Linked DNA regions of Homo sapiens: region 1 is linked to region 2. The links are contacts of gene promoters, found by promoter capture Hi-C in human tissues and cell types (Jung and others, 2019). All regions are on one chromosome and are shown on one strand. The core of a region is centred on a gene start or on the middle of the fragment in contact, and the rest is flanking DNA. Distances in the headings are between cores, read along the strand shown. Region 1 has its middle 72 kb from the start of ROBO1. Region 2 holds the start of ROBO1 (roundabout guidance receptor 1).

Region 1 (6,859 bases), core at 1,738-4,237, 73 kb before region 2:
AGGTGTCTAGTTTATGCATACTTATGTATTAAAATGTAAATTCAATGTCTCTGTGAATATTGCTTGAATTAACTAAATTAAAAGCAATTGCCTCACACATTGTTCTTAAGTGTGTGTGTGTGTTTTTAAATCAATGAGATTATAATTTATTACACAAAATAGGAAAATAAGTTATATATGTGTTAGGAAAGTAAAATTAATTTGGGGATTTTTGAATCTGATTGTATGTCAACTATATTTTTTTTTCTTTCCATGCTGTCTGTTTTATCTAGAGTCATGAGTTAAGAATTAGCACCATCATATTTTTTTTGGCAACAAAATTTCCTTTTACCCTCTAGGTCCTATTCATCATTTTAAAAAACACACTTACTATAACCTTTATCTTGGCTCATTTCCCATACTGATGTATCCTCTCTACATTGATTCAGAAATTACTTATGTTTTGTATTTGATGGTTATCACTGCCAACCCCATTAGTTATTGCCAATTTAAAATGCTATGGTATAAAGCATACATGCCACTTTTCCCAAGGTCAGGGCTGGTATTAGATCTATTTGGCCAAGTACCTATCTGGTATTATTGGTGATATTATAAACTTGCAATAATTCAGGCTATTGAGTTTCTGTGTATCGGGTTGCCTGTGTATTGAGTTGCCAATACACAGGATAAATTCATTTATGCTCCTATTATTTCTGATAATGTCGAAATTAAATTTAATTCTAGGGTGTTTTTAATTTGCCCTTTAAGGATGTATAGTTGCTTGAAATTTATTACATCTTTCAAAGTTATTAAAGAGCTCATCTAGACACATGCTTTTAAAAAAATAACCATTTGCACTTTAAAATTGCAGAGCATCAAATAAATGTACTTGTAGGCAAAGGTCTACTCCACCTCTAAGATTCTATAGCTAATACTCTGGAGAAATTGCAATAACATTTCAAAGGAAATGCATTTTAAACATAGCATTGATAATTTTAGGATGATTTAAAATAGTGTTTAATATAATGCCTATCTGGGGTACTCTAAGTATGTTTTACCTACATATTTGTTATATAAATGCACACGTAACTCTACTTTTTGAAGAATACAGAATTTCTTTTCTGCGTTTTTGCTTGCCTTCTTTTCACCTTACCTCACCCTTCTTTTCAGCCCATATTACTTTTTAAAAGAGTTCTTAGGTATGTGTTCCCATATTTTTCTCTAAGCCTACATTATTTTACACAAATATATAGATATACCTTTACAAATCATATATACATACCATGAATAGATGTGTGTGAATATTGTATTAATGTATACGATTCCACATAAAAAAATCTTTACATTTTCTCCTTAAAATGGGAGCATATTTGTACACATTCTATTGCAACTAGCTTTCTCTACTTAATATTTTATGGATATATCTTCATGTTAATAGATTCCAAAATTATTATTTTTACTGACTGCATAATATATCAATTTGCAGCTATGCCATGATTTTTTCAACTTTTCACATGCTTTGGACATTCCCATTTTTGTAGATTGTTGCCAATAAAAAGAATGCTGCATTAAACATTCTTGTGTCTATATTCTCTGCTACTGGTGGATATTTTTCTAAGACAGGTTGATTTCCTTAGAAGAATGAATTTGCTTTATTGAAGACTATACGAATAATGACAAATTGTTTTCCAGAGAGTTGTTGTATTAGTCCATTTTCAGACTGCTATAAAGAATACATGGGATTGGATAATTTATAAATAAAAGAGATTTAATTGACTCACAGTTCTGCATAACTAGTGAGGCCTCCAGGAAACTTTCAATCATGGCAGAAGGCGAAGGGGAAGCAAGGCACATCTTACATGGCAGCAGGAGAGAGAGAGAGAGAGAGAGAGGAAGAAGAAGAAGAAGAAGAAGAAGAAGGAGAAGGAGAAGAGGAGGAGGAGGAAGAGAAAGAGGAAGAGGAAGAAGGAGGAAGAGGAACTGCCACAAACTTTACAACCATCAGCTCTCCTGAGAACTCAGTCACTATCATGAGAAAAGCATGGGGGAAACCGCTCCAATGATCCAATTACCTCCCACCAGATCCCTCCTTCAACACATGAGGATTACAATTACAATTCAATATGAGATTTGGGTGGAGACACAGAGCCAAACCATATCAGTAGCTATCCAGTAGCACCAGCAATATGTCAAAGTATTGTTTTCTTTAAGCTCTGGTAGAAATAGGGTGCAGTCGGCCTTTTGTTTTTTACAGTAAAAGAACATGATTTATAATGAAATTGACCATAGCTTTACATATATTTATTGAGTGTTTGTATTTAATTTTCTGGAAAAATCTATTTTATAAGCATCAACCATTTTTGTATTAGCTTATTATGCCTTTTGTCAAGGCATAATAAGCTTTATAAGATCTCCTTACCTATTATAAGTTTTAATCTACTCAGACAATGTCCATGTAGGTTGTTAATTATAATAATGCATTTATAAGGCAGAACCTAAAATATTCTAACACAATTAAATGAAAAAAGTAATAGCACATTTGCTTATAGTTACAATCAATGTAATAAGATTTGACGGTGGCTAACTAAAATTTTGAAAAATTATTTATTAGTTTTCTGTTTGTTATTTTAATAAATGTACCAAAATTTCAGATAAAGTGAGACACTACCAGCCACCAATGTGTGACTCTTACTTCCATGTCCCAATCTTACTATCCAAGAGGGTAAACAACAACAACAACAAATAGAACCTTCCATTTCAAGGTGAAATGTCAGTTAATGTTTCTGAAACCCCTCTATTGCCAAACCTCTAAAAATGCTGGATAAAACAATTCAAAGCAACCATTCAAAATTGGCTTGCTGGCAAGCAGGCAGGGAAAGTCTCAGAGACCTAAACAAATAAGAAAACCCAAATCCAGGGGTACGAGTGCTCAAGCAGGCAGCTGTCAATTTCCAGCAAGCCAAGCTTCAGATTTTAATGGGCCATTTTTGGGGAATGCGAAAAAGCCAGGAAACAAAAAACTTTATATCAGAGAACTCCTGAGTAAAACAAAATACTCCAAATTTGATATGAACAATTATTATTTTTTGATCCACTTTGTCACAAAAGAAAACTTGTTTAACTGGACCTTGACTCTGACAGGGATAAGATAGGGAAAAGGAAAATTTCACTTAAAATTTCCCACCCAAATGATGACCTCATAGAACTATTAAAAATTAATTTGGAATTGGAATATTTGCTATTAAATTGTATGACTAGTTAGTGTGAATTTAAACTTAGTTCAAAATATCCATAAGCCTCAGGTTACTCATCTCTTACATAAGAAAAATGCTCTTTTTCTCACAAACAATCATTTACTTCCATTTATAAATAAGGTATGAAATGTAAAAGTCCCAAAGCTTCCAAAGTTTCCAAAGAAACTAAGTGAAAAATTATGTATGTATTCATACATATACCTATATTTTGAGTCACTGTTTTTATTTTTATCCATGATATTTATGCTCACAGTTTGTATACCTTTTATTTTTATATAATGTTTAATTTACAGAAAATTTTCAAGGCTACTAGTACAAAGAGCTATGATATATCCTTTATTAGGATTCACCAGATACTAATATTTTTTATTTATTTAGATTTGTTCTCTCTCTCTCTCTGTCTCTCTCTCTCTCATCCCCTCATCAATGGTTGATATGGTTTGGCTGTGTCCCCACCCAAATCTCATTTTGAATTATAGTTCCCACAATCCACATCTGTCGTGGGAAGGACCAGGTGGAGATAATTTAATCATGGGGGCGGTTTTCCCCACCCTGTTCTCATGATAGTGAATTAGGTCTCACAAGATCTGATGATTTTATAAGGGCTTTTCTCCCTTTGCTCGACTCTCATTCTCTCTCCTGCCACCCTGTGAATAGATGCCTTCTGCCATGATTGTAATTTTTCTGAGGCCTCCCCAGTCATGAGGAATTGTGAGCCAATTAAACTTTTTTCCTTTATAAATTACCAAATCCCTGGCAGTTCTTTATAGTAGTGTGAAAACAGACTAATACAATGGTCTATATATTTTTTCTACCTTCTCAATTATTTTAGAATAACTAGTAGATATTATGATGATTTAAATCTAATTAACTTAGCATGCACTTAGTTTAAACAAGGGCATTACATTGTCTTACTGAAGTTTATTAACAAACAGAAAATTTAACCTTGATACAATGCTATTATATAACTCAAATTTTCAGTTTAAATTTTTAAATTGTCTTTGATAAATATTTGTTTCTACTCCCAAATACAATCCAGAGTAATATCACATTTAAGATACATGTCTCTTTTGTCTATTTTCACCTGTATCATCAGATTTTTATTGTCTTTTACGTTATTAACTTTTTTTAAAAGTACGGTTAGATTTTAGAAGGCACTTCAATTTGTTTTTTTCTTCTGTTTCACCATGATTAGATTCAGATTATGCATCTCAGAAGAAACACCACAGAAGTAATGTTGTATTTTCCTCCATACATCAAATCAGGAGGTAAGTACTTTTGGCTTGTACCAGTATTGATAATGTTAACTTTAATCAATTACATATGATAGTGTCTGCCAAACTTCTCTACTCTAAGATGTCTGTTTCCTCTTTGTAATTAATAAATAATTTGTGGGGAGGCTTTCAGACTATGACAATATCTCCTCTCTCATCATATTCTCACCCATTAGTATTGCATCTGTTGCTAACTCTTGCCAGAATCAATTTCTATAATGATAATAAAAGGTGATTTTCTAACTCCATAATTCTACTTAAGTTTATTAATTGTCATGTTACTCTAACGTAAAGCTTTCTTCATGCCTCTATTTATTTATTCATTTCTGTACTTACATCAGTATTAACTAATAGATTATTATTTTATTCAGTGGGTAATAACCTGTTACTATCATTATTTAATTGTTCAAATTGATCTACAGTTGGCTAGTGAGAGACTATATCAGTTCATTTTGTATTTTCATTGTTTAATTGTTCAAATTGATCTATATTTGGCTAGTGAGAGACTGCATCAGTTCCTTTTGTATTTTCTATAACAGAATACCTGAAACTGCATAATTTATACAGAAAATGAATTTACTTCTCAGTTATGGATGCCAAGAAGTCCAAAGTTGAGGGCTGCATCTGGTGAGAGGCTTCTTGCTGATAGGGGCTCTCTGAAGAGTCCTGCGGCAGCACAAGCATCACATGGTGGGATGGCTGAGCAGGCTACTGTGTTCAGGTCTCTCTTTCTCTTCTGACAAAGCCACCCATTCTCCTCCCATGATATCCATCAATCCATTAACCCCAAAATTCCTTAATCCATTAATCCATGGATGGATTAATCCAATCACCTTTTAAAGGTCCACCTTTCAATACTGCCACATTGAGGATTGTATTTCCAACATATGAAATTTGGGGGACACATTCAAAGCGTAGTAGAGCCCATTCAAGCTAATTACCATGTTCTTTGACAGGTTTCCAGCACTTTTACTTTCTGGCATAATTGTTGGCATATCATATCAGGCTCATCTTGTCTTTCTTCTTCCTTAGTGCTGGAAACAGTCATTTCTCCAAGAAGTCCTCATTGCCTTAAGTGAACATCAGGTGTGTTCATCACTATTGGTGTGCCCCTGCTTTGAAGCTCTTGTAGTGGACATAGCTAGGAAATTATTCACATGGACACACACACACACACACACATATTGGTATTAGGCAGATGCAGATATAGATGACATATAGCTAAATATGTACTATGAGTTCAAAAGCTCATCCTGGTAAAGCGCACAGCAATCCAAAAGCACAGGATTCATTTTAGTCTTTTTTTTTAAGTTTTTTTTTTAATTTTTATTTTTTATTTATTATTATTATACTTTAAGTTTTAGGGTACATGTGCACAATGTGCAGGTTAGTTACATATGTATACATGTGCCATGCTGGTGCACTGCACCCACTAACTCGTCATCTAGCATTAGGTACATCTCCCAATGCTATCCCTCCCCCCTCCCCCCAACCCACAACAGTCCCCAGAGTGTGATGTTCCCCTTCCTGTGTCCATGTGTTCTCATTGTTCAATTCCCACCTAAGAGTGAGAATATGCGATGTTTGGTTTTTTGTTCTTGCGATAGTTTACTGAGAATGATGATTTCCAATTTCATCCATGTCCCTACAAAGGACATGAACTCATCATTTTTTATGGCTGCATAGTATTCCATGGTGTATATGTGCCACATTTTCTTAATCCAGTCTATCATTGTTGGACATTTTAGTCTTTGCTGTGTAAATCTTCCTCAACAGGGAGAGCCTAGCTTCCATTATGTTCAATATATTTTACTTATGTACTCAATTACAGAATATATAGAAAATACTGTGAGAATTATTAACGATTCCCACTGCAAGCTTTTTAAAAGCCTGCATAATTTACTAAGATTAGTTCTGTTTTCTCATTATCAGTGTGGTGATGTTTCATTGAAAATAAAGCTATTCTGTTTGTAAACAATTTTATTTTTTAAACACATAGTTTTTGGTTTCATTTATTGAGCAGTGAAAATATTAACATACCACCAAAGTCAAAACTTCATAAAAGGATGTACTTAGTCATTTATCACTATCCCATTCTGTCCATCCTATTCCCATCCATATCCTATAATCATTATTATATATTTTCTTATATTCAGAAGCCATTTTCATATATTTTGATAAATGTTCTGCTTATAGTTTTTGTCTGTTTGTTTTGGGATTTTTTTCCTTCAAATTTTAAGAGTACCTAATATGTTAGGAGTATTAGCCTTTTATCTGTAGTGATATGTTATATTTTCTCCTGGTTGGTCTTTTTTACGCTTTGGCCTTTGCTTATAACACTTTTTTGCCATG
Region 2 (6,916 bases), core at 1,987-4,486:
ATGTGTATATGTGTGTATGTACATATATGTGTATATGTGTGTGTACATATATGTGTATATGTGTGTGTACATATATGTGTATATATGTGTGTATATATACATATATGTGTGTATATATGTGTATATATACATATATATGTGTGTATATATATATTGCTGTTTAGTACTGATTTACACTTTTAAAGATGCCTGTTTAGCTGTTAACATTCTTTATATTTCTGCTTTCAGAATATAATTTATATGTCTGGTAGTTTTCCTTTTCATCTGTCAAAATCAAGCATGGATAAATATTCTATTTAAAGAGACACATAGATCAATGCCTGTGGCTTTGAAATTTTTTAAACTATACATATTTCAAAATTACTCAAGGCAGAATTTTTTAAATAGCTTGGATAGTAGCTGAATGTCATTATATTTCATTAAGTTTTATCAAGTGGCATGCTATTGCGTGTTTACCCACCTAAATTTAGAAAGGAAGCTGATTGTAGTAATGACAGACAGGGATATGCCATGTATGTTTTGCTTTCCAACTTTTATAGATGTTCACAGTAACCACAATAAGGCATTGTCATCATGATCCAAGGACATAATGGATATCAGTTTCTGACATAGCATATATTGTCCTTGAAAATTGCACTGACAAAATGAGGGGTCCAACAATACTTCAAATAATAAAGAATAGATCAAGGATATTCCTACAGATCTAGGATATATGAAAACTATTGTGGTTCTAATATCCTTCTTTAAAATATGTTTTGCCTTAGTATCCAAGAAGTAAGGAAAATATATTTGCAACATTTACAACTATATATTTATTTTATATATATATATATATATATATATATATATATATATATATACATCTCATATGGTAATAATTTGGATAAACAAGTAATTTATTGAAGAGATGTAGAAAACTTTTTTAAAAAAATAGTAAGTTAAACTTAAGTTTCTGTTTAGCTTGCTATATTTTTACATCAGTCTTTTATATAGAAAGTAAAAACTTATCAAGAGATTATATAATAAATTTGTTATTAGGTCAGTTTTGGTTTATTTATTTTCTTCTGTTCACTATTATATGTGTCCACTATCAAACTTCCCCATTTAATTATGGTCATAGATAAGCTGCATTGATTTTGTATAAAATCTGTCAGCTTGTGTAAAACACATCTTTTCTCAGTTCTAAAATGATACACATTAAATGCAGAACTTTCAACTTGTAGTTGGGTTGCAAATGATTTTTTTCAGATCCCCTTGTAGAAAGAAGTTGAAACACCAATAATTTACTTGTTTTAGAAATAAGATGAATGTCAGTCATCTTTATTCAACTTTGCATGGTCATTATGCTTTTCTTACTATATGAAATAATAGCTTTTCTTTTCTTTTACAGATTAAAAAAAAGTCCTTTATACCCTTATACTGAATATTGCAACACTTTGGTATTTTCATTTTAACTCTATTGTAAATGGAGAAATTATTAACCTGAAGTAAAGTGATTGAAGTAACCCTGAATAAAAGTTATTCAAAAGCTATTTCAGTGACACAATAGCAATGGATATATACAGCAAATTGACTCTGATACAATGCCAATGATCACATCTTTTCACTCTGAATTAGTGATCATGGATATTTTTAAAAATATGTGTTTGGTGCAAACTTTGCAAATACACATAAAAATACTGGATTTTCTAATCCCTGAAAGAAACTCTCTTCTTTCACCTCTCAGTCGTGTAAGAGTTAACTCTGTTTCCTACAAGGATGCAATCTGTAAGTTAGGTCTGGAAGGCAGCAAAGGCAACCTGGACTTGAAGTTAACACTTCTGTTGTCAAGGGTTACTGATTGGGGGAAGGGAAGGGGCTGTAAAGGGAAAGAGTTACGGAAATGAAGAGGGATTGTAGCACACACTACATAAATTCAAATGCTTTACATGTATTTGGAATAAGATCTCGAGTCTGTTGTATTTTTGCATTGTGTTTTCATTTATTTAGTTTACACATAGGTAGTGAATTTATAGGTTGGTTGATGTTAACCTTATCCAGAGTGGCCCTTTCCAACAATGTTCATTCAGTTGTACATTACATATATGTAATAATTTTGTAATTAAATTGGAATTTATCACAATTATTTACATCAAAGACAATAAAATTATGTTACTTCCTAAATTATAATATCAGTAAATATCGTATCTAGGATTTTGTGGAAAGTCTATGTCATTTTAGTTTAAATAAGGATTTCTCTTTTCCTCCACAAAATTAAAGGTCAAAGAAAACAGCATGTTTAAGACTTCAAATTAATATATATTAAGATTCAGCATTTAATATTCTAATTCTTAAAATAACTGGCTTTACCGATGATGAACTAAAGTGATTTTGCACACTATTACAATATTTCAAATTGCTAGTCACCACAGGTCGGCCTCACTTTAAATCTCCTTGTTATGCCAATTTGCATTACTAATGAACTTGCTAAGAGAGAAACTGTAAAAAGATAATGTAGCAATTAATAGTAAATGCTTGACATACTGTGACATTATAATACCTTTATGTTGATTTATATCTTTATGTCAATATTTACAAGGAAAATATTTTTGAATTTCTAATTTTGCGAAGTAAAAATGATGCTGACGCCATTGTCATTGATGGAATTTTTTCTGTAGCATTTGACTAATATAACCCGTGTTTTATAATTGGTAGACTCATATTTTAGCTTCTACTATCTACTACCCATGTAAGGTATTTTATTTGTAGTAGCTATGAATTGTAAATACAATTGGGTGTTGTGTGTACCTACGTGAAGTGCAGAAGTATTTGATTATATAAAATTTCCTGGATTTATATGAGAATAATGCATAATAGAGAGCAAAAGAGGGTTTTCCTGCCAAAAGTGTCTGTGTGAATTTTCCTTCGAAAATGTTCTTTTAAAATCCTTTGTATGATCAAAGCCACTCCACACAGACAATTAAAAGCAGCTATGGAATGATAGATCACATGACAGGAGTTAAATGTAAGGGTTTTTTTTTTTTTTTTTCCTCCCCCCTCGGTTAAACATCGCAGCAGGCATTACAATACCAGAGGTAACGAATCAATTAAATCCATTTTCCCCTCGGCGTCTCCAAAGCTGCGTGCCTAGTGTTGCTGTGTAGTTTAGACCGGAGCAGTAGGACCCAGGGGCCTCCGCAGCCACCAATAGAAGCGCACACTTGGACCTATTTGTATGCAATGCCTTCTGCTCTGCGCATTAATAGTAATACAGATAACGGGTTTGAAAGAATTCTCTACTGAAGAAGGATTGAATTTTTCCAGGGTGCTGATACAGAGAAGAAACCCGACTTCACTCTCTCCCTATTTCCCCACTCTTAGGTTTAAAAGTCTGTCACCTTTCGCTTGGTTTAAACTCGGAAAGGTCTCAGTGCACAGCAAAGTTGCAGGGCTGCGTCTGCACTACGGAGCCTCTAGATTGCTGAAAACAGTCTTATGGAAGGGTAAGTCTCGGAAATGGTTGCAAGGGAAGTGACAGCTGGCTTTTGATTTGTAAAAGGGGACACGCTGGGTTTTACACTAGTGGTTGTTGGAGTGCAGAATGGTTGCCGAGAGGACTCTGCAGTTTATCCAGAAATTGTGGCTGATGCGCCAGGGTGTTTTGGGGTAGAATCAAAAACCTTCAGGCTAAATCGGAAATTGCAGCCTTGCGATCGGGAGGGATTCAACAAGTTTTCCTGCAGGGATGCGATGTTTGTTTCTTCCTTGCCAGTTGTGCAGAGTGTCCGTTCCAGGTAGGCTGCGGCTGCTTAACAAAGAAGTTTTGGAATTTGTTTGTTGTGTGTGTGGCTGGGCTAACCCTTGTTGGAGTAGGTTTCGTGCCGCTTTTGGCTTCTTGGGGGCACACAGCGGAATTTGCTCTAGGGATGCGGCGAGCATCAGCGGTGTAGTGGGCTGGGGCCGGGCAACTTTGCAGCCTAATCTCAGTGCCGCTGACCGCACCGTTGTTCGTGATGTGAGCTGACTGAGGCATAGACACGGGCAGGCTGCAGGGAGCTTCCAAACTTTGAAAGCATTCTCCAGGAATGGATGCGCGTGGGGGCTTTGAAAATAAGCGTTACTAGGTGGATTTTGGTAAACTCTTGGCGGTATGTAGGCAGTGGGGACTTTTGACACTTGCATTTCCAACCTGCAGGATTTTGCTTGAAAACATGGTGCTGATGTGAAGACGAGAGCTTAAAGCTAAGCCAGCGGGGACTTTGAGGGAGGAAATGAGGGAGGGAAGGAGGAAGAATGAGAGAAGACAGATGAATGAAAAAGGTGCGTCCCATCTTTCACACACAAAAACCACACGAGTGGGACGAACCAGGAAGCGCTCCAGTTGGTGGCGTTTAGCTGGAAAACGTATTGCAGGGAGGTCCAGGAGCCTCTGCATTATTGATGAAACGCCGTGCCCTTCTGGGGCCCCTTCTTGCTCCTTCTCCCTGCCCCATCTTGCCAGCCCCGCTTCCATGAGCCTTCGGTTCCAGCGTTGGCGCGGGTGCGGCTGCGCGCGCGGCTGGGTCCCACAGCTCTGAGAACACAATGGGGAGAAGCAGGCGAGCCCTGCGGGCGGCCGATGCGGAAAACTCGGCGTGGCAACCCCACTGCTGCAGCCTGGGCTGCCGCTCCACCCGGGGCAGCGGCGCTGCAGAGACGGCTTCTGCCCAGTTGCCACGCGCCCTGAGGTCTCGGAGGACCGCGTGGAGGGCGCTCACACCTGGCCGCTAAAATCCTGGGATACCCTTCTAGGAGTCACTGTGTCCCACGCAGATGGGTGGGGTGGGGGAGACGGAATGCTAAGACATCCCACTCCTGCCTCGAGTCGGAGCTCCCACTACTCAAATATCCTTAGTGTGCACCCCAAGCATCTAGAGGACCTGCGCCCCCAAGAAAAAAGGACACGAAGGGGGAAAGAAGGGAAATGTTGATGAGGCTGCAAGAGGGGAAGGAAAACAAGCAATTTAGGGCAATTATGGTCAATGGTCAGGCTTTTCTGGGCTCTTTTAAGTGGATTGATTTAGAGGAGCTTTGAAATGCTGTCCCTGGCCTGTCTGCGGCACTAAAGGGGGCAGATTTCCAGACGCAGGAACTCACTGGAGGCTCCTTCTATAGATGAAGGGAGGAAAGGGCAGGGCAGGAGGCTCATTTCACAGGGTAGTTTAACCCTGACCTCAGCACCTCCCACCCTTTCACGCCCCGCCAAGGAGTGCCCCGACCTTGTAAACTCCTCTGTGTCATCTGCCCTGTGTAAGTGATTTTCATCAAGCTGTGTGTTACAGAGGCCTGTTAAGAGATGGTTGTCTGTTTCCAAGTAGTGGTGGGAGGTTGTTTAATTTGGAGGTTGCTTGTCAACCCGGGCTGAGCGCACAGAGGAAGGAGCGTAGATGCAGGACCCTATAGAATGGGCCACTTGGGGTTGTCAGTTACTTGAAGGCTACACATCAAAGGAAATATACTGATTGAGCACCTGGGGGAAGACAATGCCATTTCATTTTTTCCTCGCTTTCCATGTGCCTCCTTTACTGTGGTTGTTTGGGAACTAGGATATAATAATTACAAAAAAAAGTTGAAAATCCACTGATTTATTTGGAAGCCTCATAACTGGGTTTTCAGGCCCAAACTTGTATTCTCCTAGCAGCTATTATTTTGAAAGCCTCAGTCTGACACCTTAAAACCTGCTTCTCTACTATATCTTGAGGAGGCACTGGTAACTTTCAAAGGCAATCTGTAAGCATGCATCATGTTGATTTTGTTAAAGGGAAGAGGCAGTGTTGGTAGATGTTCCATCAATATTTGCCCTTCCAAAATCGGCCCCCACCCCCCAAAAAAAGGAAGAGGAAGCAGCAGCAGCTCGGAGCAGATATCCAGTTGGTAAGATGACTTTGTTTCTTATGGACCTATACCTCTCCCATGAGGGATAAAAATTAGGATATCTAAGGAGTGGGGGCATTCACCTTATATTGTTGCCACGGTTTTTGGACTTCCTTTAGCCTTTTCGCACATATCTTCCTGCTCCATGCCTCTTCCAATTTAGCCCTGTAGGAGCTGCAGAATTGAAGCACAATGACACAGCTGCAGATCCCTGGTGGAGCCTTGCTTCAGAAAACAGCTGTTAATCACATGTTTGTTGTATTTTCCTATTTACTTCCTTTTACTTCCCTTCGCTTCCCTTAGCCTGTCCTTGAACCAGTGTTACCATCTTCTGGGCTCTACTCTATGAAGGTTAGTGATTTCCAGTGATATAGCACTGAGCTGAGCATGGGAGGAGGGGAGAGACTCAACAGCTGCCTAGGGAGTCCCAAAGGTTTAATGCCAACTTTCTCTTACCCTATACTGCACAAAATAAAGAACAAATACCCTAATATCTCCCCAAAGAGAACTGCATTGTTCTGTATAATTTTCTTTTATCTTATAACATAGTAGAATCAATTCAAATACAAAATAACATTGACCAGAGATGAAAAGGAAGCTATACACTTGTGTGCACTATTTGGAAAGTAGTGTTGTGCTTAGCTATAAAATCTCACTTTTTGGCCTTCATCTATACTTAATACATTAGGAACTACTTTTATTTAAGCAAGATTTAATGTATTACTTTCATTACAAAGCTGAGAAACTCTAGACACCACAAAGATGTGAATTTTAAATGAAAAAAAGCAAGGCAGTAAAGTAAGCCCCTGGCAGCTTGATGAATGAGCAGGTGCAATGCACCATTTGAAATGTATCTTGAGGTGAGCTTCCACCAATCTGCTGGAGAATGAGCTCCTTCTTGCCACCTAAACTCAACTGATTTTCCTCTTTCTGAGACCACAGACAAAAACATGATAGCATACAATAGGCTAGATTATGACCTGGTCACATAATCATTTATCTCTCTAAACTTGCTGTTGAAGTG

The links. Contacts are between HindIII fragments. The study calls those that stand out against the background at their distance.
Region 1: a contact is called between a fragment that was not itself captured here and the fragment with the promoter of ROBO1 in region 2, in 2 of the 25 tissues and cell types used here (dorsolateral prefrontal cortex and mesendoderm cells).

Annotation. Positions count from the first base shown.
Region 1 is chr3:79,836,871-79,843,729 of GRCh38, reverse strand. No RefSeq gene overlaps it. Among named protein-coding and RNA genes, the nearest start is that of ROBO1, 72 kb to the right of the region's middle. The HindIII fragment of the contact is 5,213 bases long and covers 381-5,593 here.
Region 2 is chr3:79,764,318-79,771,233 of GRCh38, reverse strand. ROBO1 (roundabout guidance receptor 1) reads left to right here and starts at 3,236. Exons shown (of 31, transcript NM_002941.4): 1 at 3,236-3,482. The HindIII fragment of the contact is 15,501 bases long and covers 1-6,916 here.